2 separate regions of the Homo sapiens genome follow, and region 1 is linked to region 2. The links are contacts of gene promoters, found by promoter capture Hi-C in human tissues and cell types (Jung and others, 2019). All regions are on one chromosome and are shown on one strand. The core of a region is centred on a gene start or on the middle of the fragment in contact, and the rest is flanking DNA. Distances in the headings are between cores, read along the strand shown. Region 1 overlaps PCYT1A (phosphate cytidylyltransferase 1A, choline). Region 2 holds the start of TNK2 (tyrosine kinase non receptor 2).

What was found. Contacts are between HindIII fragments. The study calls those that stand out against the background at their distance.
Region 1: a fragment that was not itself captured here is called in contact with the fragment with the promoter of TNK2 in region 2 in 1 of the 25 tissues and cell types used here (spleen).

The regions. Positions count from the first base shown.
Region 1 is chr3:196,269,046-196,273,046 of GRCh38, reverse strand. PCYT1A (phosphate cytidylyltransferase 1A, choline) reads left to right here. Exons shown (of 9, transcript NM_001312673.2): 2 at 2,506-2,632. The coding sequence starts at 2,516. Among named protein-coding and RNA genes, the nearest start is that of PCYT1A, 17 kb to the left of the region's middle. The HindIII fragment of the contact is 3,023 bases long and covers 117-3,139 here.
Region 2 is chr3:195,905,756-195,909,825 of GRCh38, reverse strand. TNK2 (tyrosine kinase non receptor 2) reads left to right here and starts at 1,275. Exons shown (of 16, transcript NM_001382273.1): 1 at 1,275-1,341. It overlaps TNK2-AS1 (TNK2 antisense RNA 1), which reads right to left and starts at 1,750. Exons shown (of 2, transcript NR_145450.1): 1 at 1,048-1,750. RefSeq lists silencers at 1-521, 572-761, 812-1,061 and enhancers at 2,732-2,961, 3,012-3,061. The HindIII fragment of the contact is 14,484 bases long and covers 1-4,070 here.

The DNA.
Region 1 (4,001 bases), core at 379-2,878, 360 kb before region 2:
GTGGCCGGACCCTGTGCTGGCTCGCCTGTGCACCTCTTGCCGCTCCGTGCCTGGCTTGTCCTTGGCATGCATGGAATCTGTGCTGGTAACACAAGCTGAGCATAGCCTACCAGGCTGAGTGGACGGAACGAGCCCGGCGGGCCTGAGCAAAACTCAGGCAAAGGTGCCACTGGCCACAGAGGTTTCTGGCTAGCGAAGTGACACCCCAAGTATTCTGTGACTTAAACATGAAATACAGAATATTCAGAACTTTGCTGTAATAGCTAGTTGCTAGAAACTCTCTGCTAAATGAGACAATAATAAATAAGTTCCTTTGGGGGAAGGAGAATCCCTGAGGGGGTTTTAATAGCTGGAAACTGTGAACAAGCTTGAGGTGTTAAGACCCTGAAAGAGGAAAGGGAAATGAGTACTGAGAAAAGAAGGGGAAGGGCCAGGTGCAGTGGTTCACACCTGTAATTCCAGCACTTTGGGAGGTCGAGGTGGGTGGATCACCTGAGGTCAGGAGTTCAAGACCAGCCTGGCCAACATGACAAAACCCTGTCTCTACTAAAAATACAAAAATTGGCTAGGCGCCATGGCTCACGCCTGTAATTTCAGCACTTTTGGAGGACGAGGCAGGTGGATCACGAGGTCAGGTGTTCGAGACCAGCCTGGCCAACATAGGGAAACCCTGTCTCTACTAAAAATACAAAAAATTAGCCAGGCGTGGTGGTGGGTGCCTGTAATCCCACCTACTCAGGAGGCTGAGGCAGGAGAATCGCTTGAACCTGGGAGGCGGAGGTTGTAGTGAGCCGAGATGGTGCCACTGCACTCTAGCCAGGGTGACGGAGTGAGACTCTTTCTCAAAAAAAAAAAAAAGGAAAGAAGGAGAAGGACATTTAAAAAATACATTATGCTGGTCCTAGCTATTCTGGAGGCTCAGATGGGAGGATTGCTTAAGCTCAGGAGTTTGAGGCTACAGTGTGCTATGATTATGGCTGTGAGAGCCGAGATCGTGCCACTGCACTCTAGCCAGGGTGACAGAGTGAGACTCTTTCTCAAAAAAAAAAAAAAGGAAAGAAGGAGAAGGACATTTAAAAAATACATTATGCTGGTCCTAGCTATTCTGGAGGCTCAGATGGGAGGATTGCTTAAGCTCAGGAGTTTGAGGCTACAGTGTGCTATGATTATGGCTGTGAGAGCCGAGATCGTGCCACTGCACTCTAGCCAGGGTGACAGAGTGAGACTCTTTCTCAAAAAAAAAAAAAAGGAAAGAAGGAGAAGGACATTTAAAAAATACATTATGCTGGTCCTAGCTATTCTGGAGGCTCAGATGGGAGGATTGCTTAAGCTCAGGAGTTTGAGGCTACAGTGTGCTATGATTATGGCTGTGAGAGCCGAGATCGTGCCACTGCACTCTAGCCAGGGTGACACAGTGAGACTCTTTCTCAAAAAAAAAAAAAGGAAAGAAGGAGAAGGACATTTAAAAAATACATTATGCTGGTCCTAGCTATTCTGGAGGCTCAGATGGGAGGATTGCTTAAGCTCAGGAGTTTGAGGCTACAGTGTGCTATGATTATGGCTGTGAGTAGCCACTGCGCTCCAGCCTGGACAACCTAGCAAGACCCCTAAAAAAATAAAAACAATAAAAAAGTAAATAAAAACCATTATGCTACTCCACAATTTTCATGCAAGTAACTCTGGTGAAGTGGTCACTGAAATCTATAGAACTTTTAGAGTTAAGAAATTCACTCAGTGATGTGGTTCATGCCTGTCATCCCAAGTCTTTGGGAGTTTGAGTTGGGAGGATCACTTGAGGCCAGGAATTCAAGACCAGCCTGGGCAACATAGCGAGGCCTGTCTCTTAAAAAAAAAAATAACTAGGTGTGGTGGCATGTGCCTGTAGTCCCAACTACTTGGGAGGCTGGGGCAAGAGGATCGCTTGAGCTAACGAGGTTGAAGCTGCAGTGAGGCAAGATCATACCACTGCACCCCAGCCTGGGCAACAGAGTGAGACCCCGTCTTAAAAAAAATTAGAGTTAAGAAATCCGTGTTTTGTTAATCCAGGACTTGGTGAGAGCCATCCGTTTACAAAAGGCTCTTTTCTCTACCTGCACCAGTCATACCTTCACATTGCCTTATACCTGTCATATCGATGATGCGGAGGATAGTGGGAGAGTCTGTGTAACTATCTTTCTCAGCCAAATTATTCCAATCTTTTGCATGCAATCAGGATTTAAAATGAGCAGTTAGTATGTAGGCTGCACTGTGAGGGGGAATGACTTCCGACTTCAGGCAATTCACTGTGGCCATTGTTGCACAGAGAGGCGTTTCAGTATTTCTACTAGAGCCTGTGTTTTGTGAAGCTTCGCTGGTTTTGCCAGATGCCATTGGCTCATCTTGGTGAAGTGCAGCTGTAGAATTGGTATTTTGCTGAGTGTATCCACGTCAACGTCTCTGAAATACTGGTGACAAACTTTTTCCCACCCCAATGAGAAAATTTTTGTTTTCACTTTCTATGACCAGTTAAAAGAAGATGGATGCACAGTGTTCAGCCAAGGTCAATGCAAGGAAGAGGAGAAAAGAGGCGCCCGGACCCAACGGGGCAACAGAAGAAGATGGGGTTCCTTCCAAAGTGCAGCGCTGTGCAGTGGTAAGTGGAGATTAACCTGGCAGGGGGAGGGTAGAAACCGATATGACATTGATGATATCAGTGTTACATGTCTTCTGAAATAATGAAAAGAAGGAATAGTAAGTGTATTTTCACAGTCACTGGAAATCTGCTGCCTTTTTACTGGATTATGACTCACAGCTCAGTTGTAGAAGCTTTACATTGGGTTTAGAAAAAGAAGTGTTAGGAAAATATGGAAGTTGCATGTGTATTAGGCTGAAACTATTGAAATATGGCCAGGTGCGGTGACTCATACCTGTAATCCCACACTTTGGGAGGCTGAGGTGGGAGGATCACCTGAGGTCAGGAGTTTGAGACCAGCCTGGTGAAACCCTGTCTTTACTAAAAATACAAAATTAGCCGGGCGTGGTGGCGCATGCCTGTAATCTCAGCTGCTTGGGAGGCTGAGGCATGAGAATTGCTTGAACTCGGGAGGCGGAGGATGCGGTGAGCCGAGATTGCACCATTGCATTCCAGCCTGGGCAACAGAGACAGACCCTATCTCAAAAATAAAAATAAAAAGTAAATAAACAAATAAATAAAACTAATGAAATAGAAAAATTGGGGCTCTAGGCAGTGATTTGATCTTCGTATCATCTCATGGTGTCTAGTGCGTCTTTTCTGCTGTTTTTTCTCCCTCTATCATTCCTCCATCCTGTTACTAGTTGTATCTTAGATGAGAACCTTTTTCCGTTTATGCCTACCTTATGCTCCTTTATCTCTGGAAAATTATCTTTGTATTTCCTAATTATTGCCAAACCTTAGATGAAAGACCCCATTCCACACTGCCTATCCCATCTCAGCTTGCTACCCTTCCTAAAGCTTTCCTCCACACTGCCTATCCTGTCTCAGCTTGCTACCCTTCCTAAAACTTTCCATAATAAAAACATGTCAGAGAACACTTACACACAATTGAAGCTACTGTTGTTAATATTATTATGAAATCTGTGTTTCAAAATCCCAGTGACAGAATTGTATGTTTCTTTACCTATATTGACTATTAGCCATTGATCAAACTCAGTTTCCACTGCTTAGTTCTAGAGCTTCCCAGCCCAAAGGGAAAAATCTATTCTGAAACAGTTAATACTTATTCCAAATGAATGCTCTGTCTTGAGCAATAAAAGCAAATAATACCCTACAAATAGACAAGTGCCTGCAGGGCTGATATTGATCATAAGGGCAAGTATATATATTTGTTTCCTGTTGCATTTGTAACAAATTACCATAATACAAATATACAAATGAATTATCTTACAGTTCTGGATATCAGAAATCTGAAATGGGTCTCAGAGGGCTAAAATCAGGGTGTTGGCAGAGCTGGAGGGTCCAGGGGAAAGTCCATCTTCTTGCC
Region 2 (4,070 bases), core at 26-2,525:
CTTTAAGAGGGCGGGCCGACTCCCCCCCACCCCCCACCCCGGGGCGGCGCAGGCGCAGGCGCAGGCGGGCTCGGGGCGCTCGGCAGGAGGGACGGCGGGCGGGCGCTCACCTGCGGGGGCCGGCGCGGGGCGGGCGCCCGGCGGGCCGACGTTGACGCCCGGAGGCGAGGGCGGGGAGGCGGGCGCGGGACTCGGGGGCGGCCCGGGGCGGGAGGGGAGGGCCGGGGCGGGCGGGCGGTGTGAGCGGGCGCCGAGGGCAGCACCATCTGGAGGGGTGGGAGCGCGCGGCCTCTGGGGGGCAAGCGAGTGCGCTGGGCCGAGCCGGTCGGGGGCCCCCGGCGGGTCGCGCAGGAGGAGCGCGGCGGGCTGAGCCCTGCGCTGCCGGAGCAGCAGCCGCAGCGCGTAGGGGTTCTCAGCTGGGGCCCGCAGCAGCTCCGCGGGCTGAAGCTCGGCGTGGAGGAGCGGGGCGGGGTGGGCCCGGCGGTGCAGGAGGAGGGCGGGGTGGGCCCGGGGCTGCAGGAGCGCGGCGGCCGCGGCCACGAGCCCAGCCGGGGGGTGGTGTGGGGGCCGCCGGACGGCGCGGGCTGGGGGCGCCCGCCGTGGTGGACGGGCTCGGCGGGCTGGCCTGTGGCGCAGGAGGAGGGGCTGGGGCCCCGCGGGCAGCACCAGGAGAAGGGCGGAGGCAGCCCCGCAGTGCAGGAGCGCGGCGAGGCCCGGGCCGGGGTGCAGGAGCGCGGGGAGGGGAGCCCGCGGAGGCTGCTGCAGCAGCCCGAACCGGCGTCCGAGTCCGGGGAAGGCCCCCGCGAGCGCAGGGAGGGGCCGGAAAGTTCCGGCGAACTGGGGGAGCGGCAGTGGGAGAGCGTCGGGCGGGAGGCGGTGGTCCTGGGAGCGGCCCCGGCGCCCCGAAGCCGCCCCGAGCTGGTGGGGAGGGCCCGGCCGGTGGGGCCCCGGGGGCCTGCGGGGGAGGGGCGCCTGGGGGTGCAAGAGGCGAATTGGCTGCCCGGGGTGCAGGAGGGACAGGTGGTGCGGGCTGTCCAGGAAACCTACCTGAACGGGAAGGAGCCCCAGGAGGGAGAGGGACCCGGCGAGGGGCTCAGGACCCGGAGGCGCCGGCGGAGGAGGAGGTGGTGACTGGCAGGCCCGGGCCCCACGGTACCTCCGGGGCTGAAGGGGACGCAGGATGTAGGGGCATGGGGAGTCGGGCGCAGAAGAGTGCGGGGAACCGCTGAGCTCTGGGAGCCACTGCCTGAGGGCAGGCCGCGGCCGGCGGGAACCTCTTCTGCCGTCTCAGCCTGGGCGTCGCTGAAGCTGTGTCTGCGGGGAGGCAGCGGAAGGCGGCAGGTAAGGAAGCCCAGTCCTGTTAGCTGGAGTTGGTGTGCTTGGAAGTGAGAGGCTGCAGGTCCCTGGCGAGAGCGTAGACTCCACACTGCCCTCGTTCTTTTGGCCTTTCATCCCTGGAGGGAGGAAGCAGTGCAGTTTTCAGCGGCAAGGCAGGACCTCTCCCCCGCCAGTACTGTGTATGGTAATTGGAGTGATAGGGCATCTTCTTAGAGTCTAGGCAGCAGGCGGGACGTCTGGGTGGCTGCCAGGTCTGTGCAGAGGGAAGAGAGGGGTAGCCCCAGGGAGGAGCTGCAGGACGGTCCCCCCTCCACCTGCCCCCCGATGGCAGTAGGGGTGCCTCCATGCTATATGCTCTGCATGGTGCAGTCAACACACAAGTCCTCAAAACACGTCCCACAGAAGGGAAGAGGGCAGCGTGGGATTAACAGAACCTTATCTTGTAACCCTGTTGGTCACGTGAGCTGAGATGAGTGTGACAGCTAGTGGCTTGGGTACGGCACGAGCCTGGCCCGCTTCTGCCACGCCGTCCTGTCACAGCTGATTTACCCTGAGGGCCCAGAGCCAAGGATGATTAGTGGGCGGAAGGAGGGAGAGCAACTGGTGAGCCCTCTCGTCTCTGGGTGGGACGACCCAGCGTTAGAGGGGCGGGAGAGGAGGGTGCACTTGCACCCCAGGGCTCTGGGCTGCCTCTGTGGCCCCACCCTGGGGAGGTTTGCAGATGGGCCGCTGTGGTATCATGGGCTCTGCACCTGTCAGGACAGGAGCTCCCAGCCCAGTCTAGAGGTAGGGCTTGTAGGGGCCAAGGGTGGGGGCTGTATTTGGCTTGTTGACTCCCTCGTGGCCTGAGTGCCAGACCTACTCATTCCGCCTCGTGCCCCCAGGGGGCTTGGCGGGCTGCTTGTGGGCCTTACTCTCCTAGAGCTGTTCGCCTCTTACCTGGCACTGTCAGGTGCTTGCTTCCCCTGCCCCTGGGTGGGGATGGGTGCAGGGTTGCTGCTTGCCCAGGGCCTTAGCTAGAGGACCCTCCTCTGCCCCAGCCCGAGGTGTGGCTGTGAGTCAGATGGACCCAGACCCCTGTCCCGAACCAGACTGGGTGCTCTCCTCTGGGGGCAGAGGGAGTGGTGCTGGAGGTAGCAGCTGCTGGAGGAGCCGGTTAGCCCGCTCCTCAGACAAACTCAAACCCGCCTGTCAGCTTCATCCCATGCCTGTCGCGCTGCCACCCAAACACTCATGCACCGGAAGTTCAGCTGCTGTGCCCACGGTGCCTGACGCTTCTGGAATGGCCAGAGTGGCTCTCACTGTCTGGCTTCAGTGGAGAGAACGGTCTGTTTTAAACACATACACACAATCTTCACCTACTTATTTCAGGTCGGCGTTTTTGAACTTGTGGTAGATGAATGGGAGAAAGGCCTTGGCATCACACAGATTGCTTTTGATCTGGTTATATCGCTTACAAGCTGTGTAACTTCCTTGGGCAACATAATGTCTTTAGGTTTCAGTTTCTTGGTGTCTGCGGTGGGCCAGGACTTCCCCTGCAGTGTCGTGAGTAAAGAAACCTCAGGCCCTTTGGAGCCTGGTGCCCACCTCCCCGGAGCCCCGGCAGATGTTAGGGAGGAAGGGTCAGACTGTTCCCTCTGGCCCCTGAGCCCGGGATTAGCCCCCACCTTGTGCTTCGTCTAGAAGATGCAGTGTTTCTTTTTGTTTGTTTTAAATAACAGTTTTATTGAGATATAATGACATATGGTAAACTGAGCATATTTAAAACACACAATTTAATAAGTTGTGGCCTGTGTATATACCCGTGAAACCACCCCCACCTTCAAGATAGTGAACATCCCCCTTATTCCCCTGTCCCCAGAAGTTTTCTTGTGGAACCCCTCCATCCCCCGCTCCTCTGCCATCCCCTACCCCAGGTAACAGGCTGGTCTACTTTCTGTCACTGTGTCTGAGTTTGCAGCATTTACTGTAAACGGAATCGCGTCTTTCATTCAACAGAAGTATTTTGGAGTTTGTCCAGGTGGTTGCGCGTATCAACAGTCATTGTACACGTGTGCCAAAGTCTGTTTATCCATTGACCTGTTGATGGGTTTTCAGAGAAAGCTGCTGTGAACGTGTTTGTTAGTCTTTGTGTGGATGTACACTTTTATTTATCTTAGGTAAATCCCTAGGACCGGAATGGCTGGGTCATGTGGTAGGTACACATTTAACCTTTAAGAAACTGCCAGACTGTTTTCCAAAGTGGTTGTACATTTTATATACTCATCCACTGTGTATGAGAGTTCTGGTTTGTCCATGTCTTTGATATGTCCACATCTCGATGTGGTCAGTCTCTAATTTTAGACACTCTCATGTCTGTAGTGGTATCTCATTACAATTTTAATTTGTATTTCCTTAATGACTCATGTTGTCGGGCATCTTCTCATGTGCTCATTTGCCATACGTATGTCTTTGGTGCTGTGTCTGTTCAGATCGTTTGCCCATTTTTAATTGTGTAGGGTTTTTCGTGTTGAGTTCTGAAGAGTTCTTGATATATTCTGGATATAAGCCTTTTATCAGGTATGTGATTTACAAATCTTTTTTCCAGCTTGTGGCTTTGTATTTTGATCCTCTTAACAATGTCTTCTAAAAAATTCTCATGATCAGTAGTGCAAAATGCTGTGTTTTTGAAGAGAAGTTGTAAATTTTGATTAATTTACTAATTTGTTACTTTGTGGATTGCATTTTTGGTG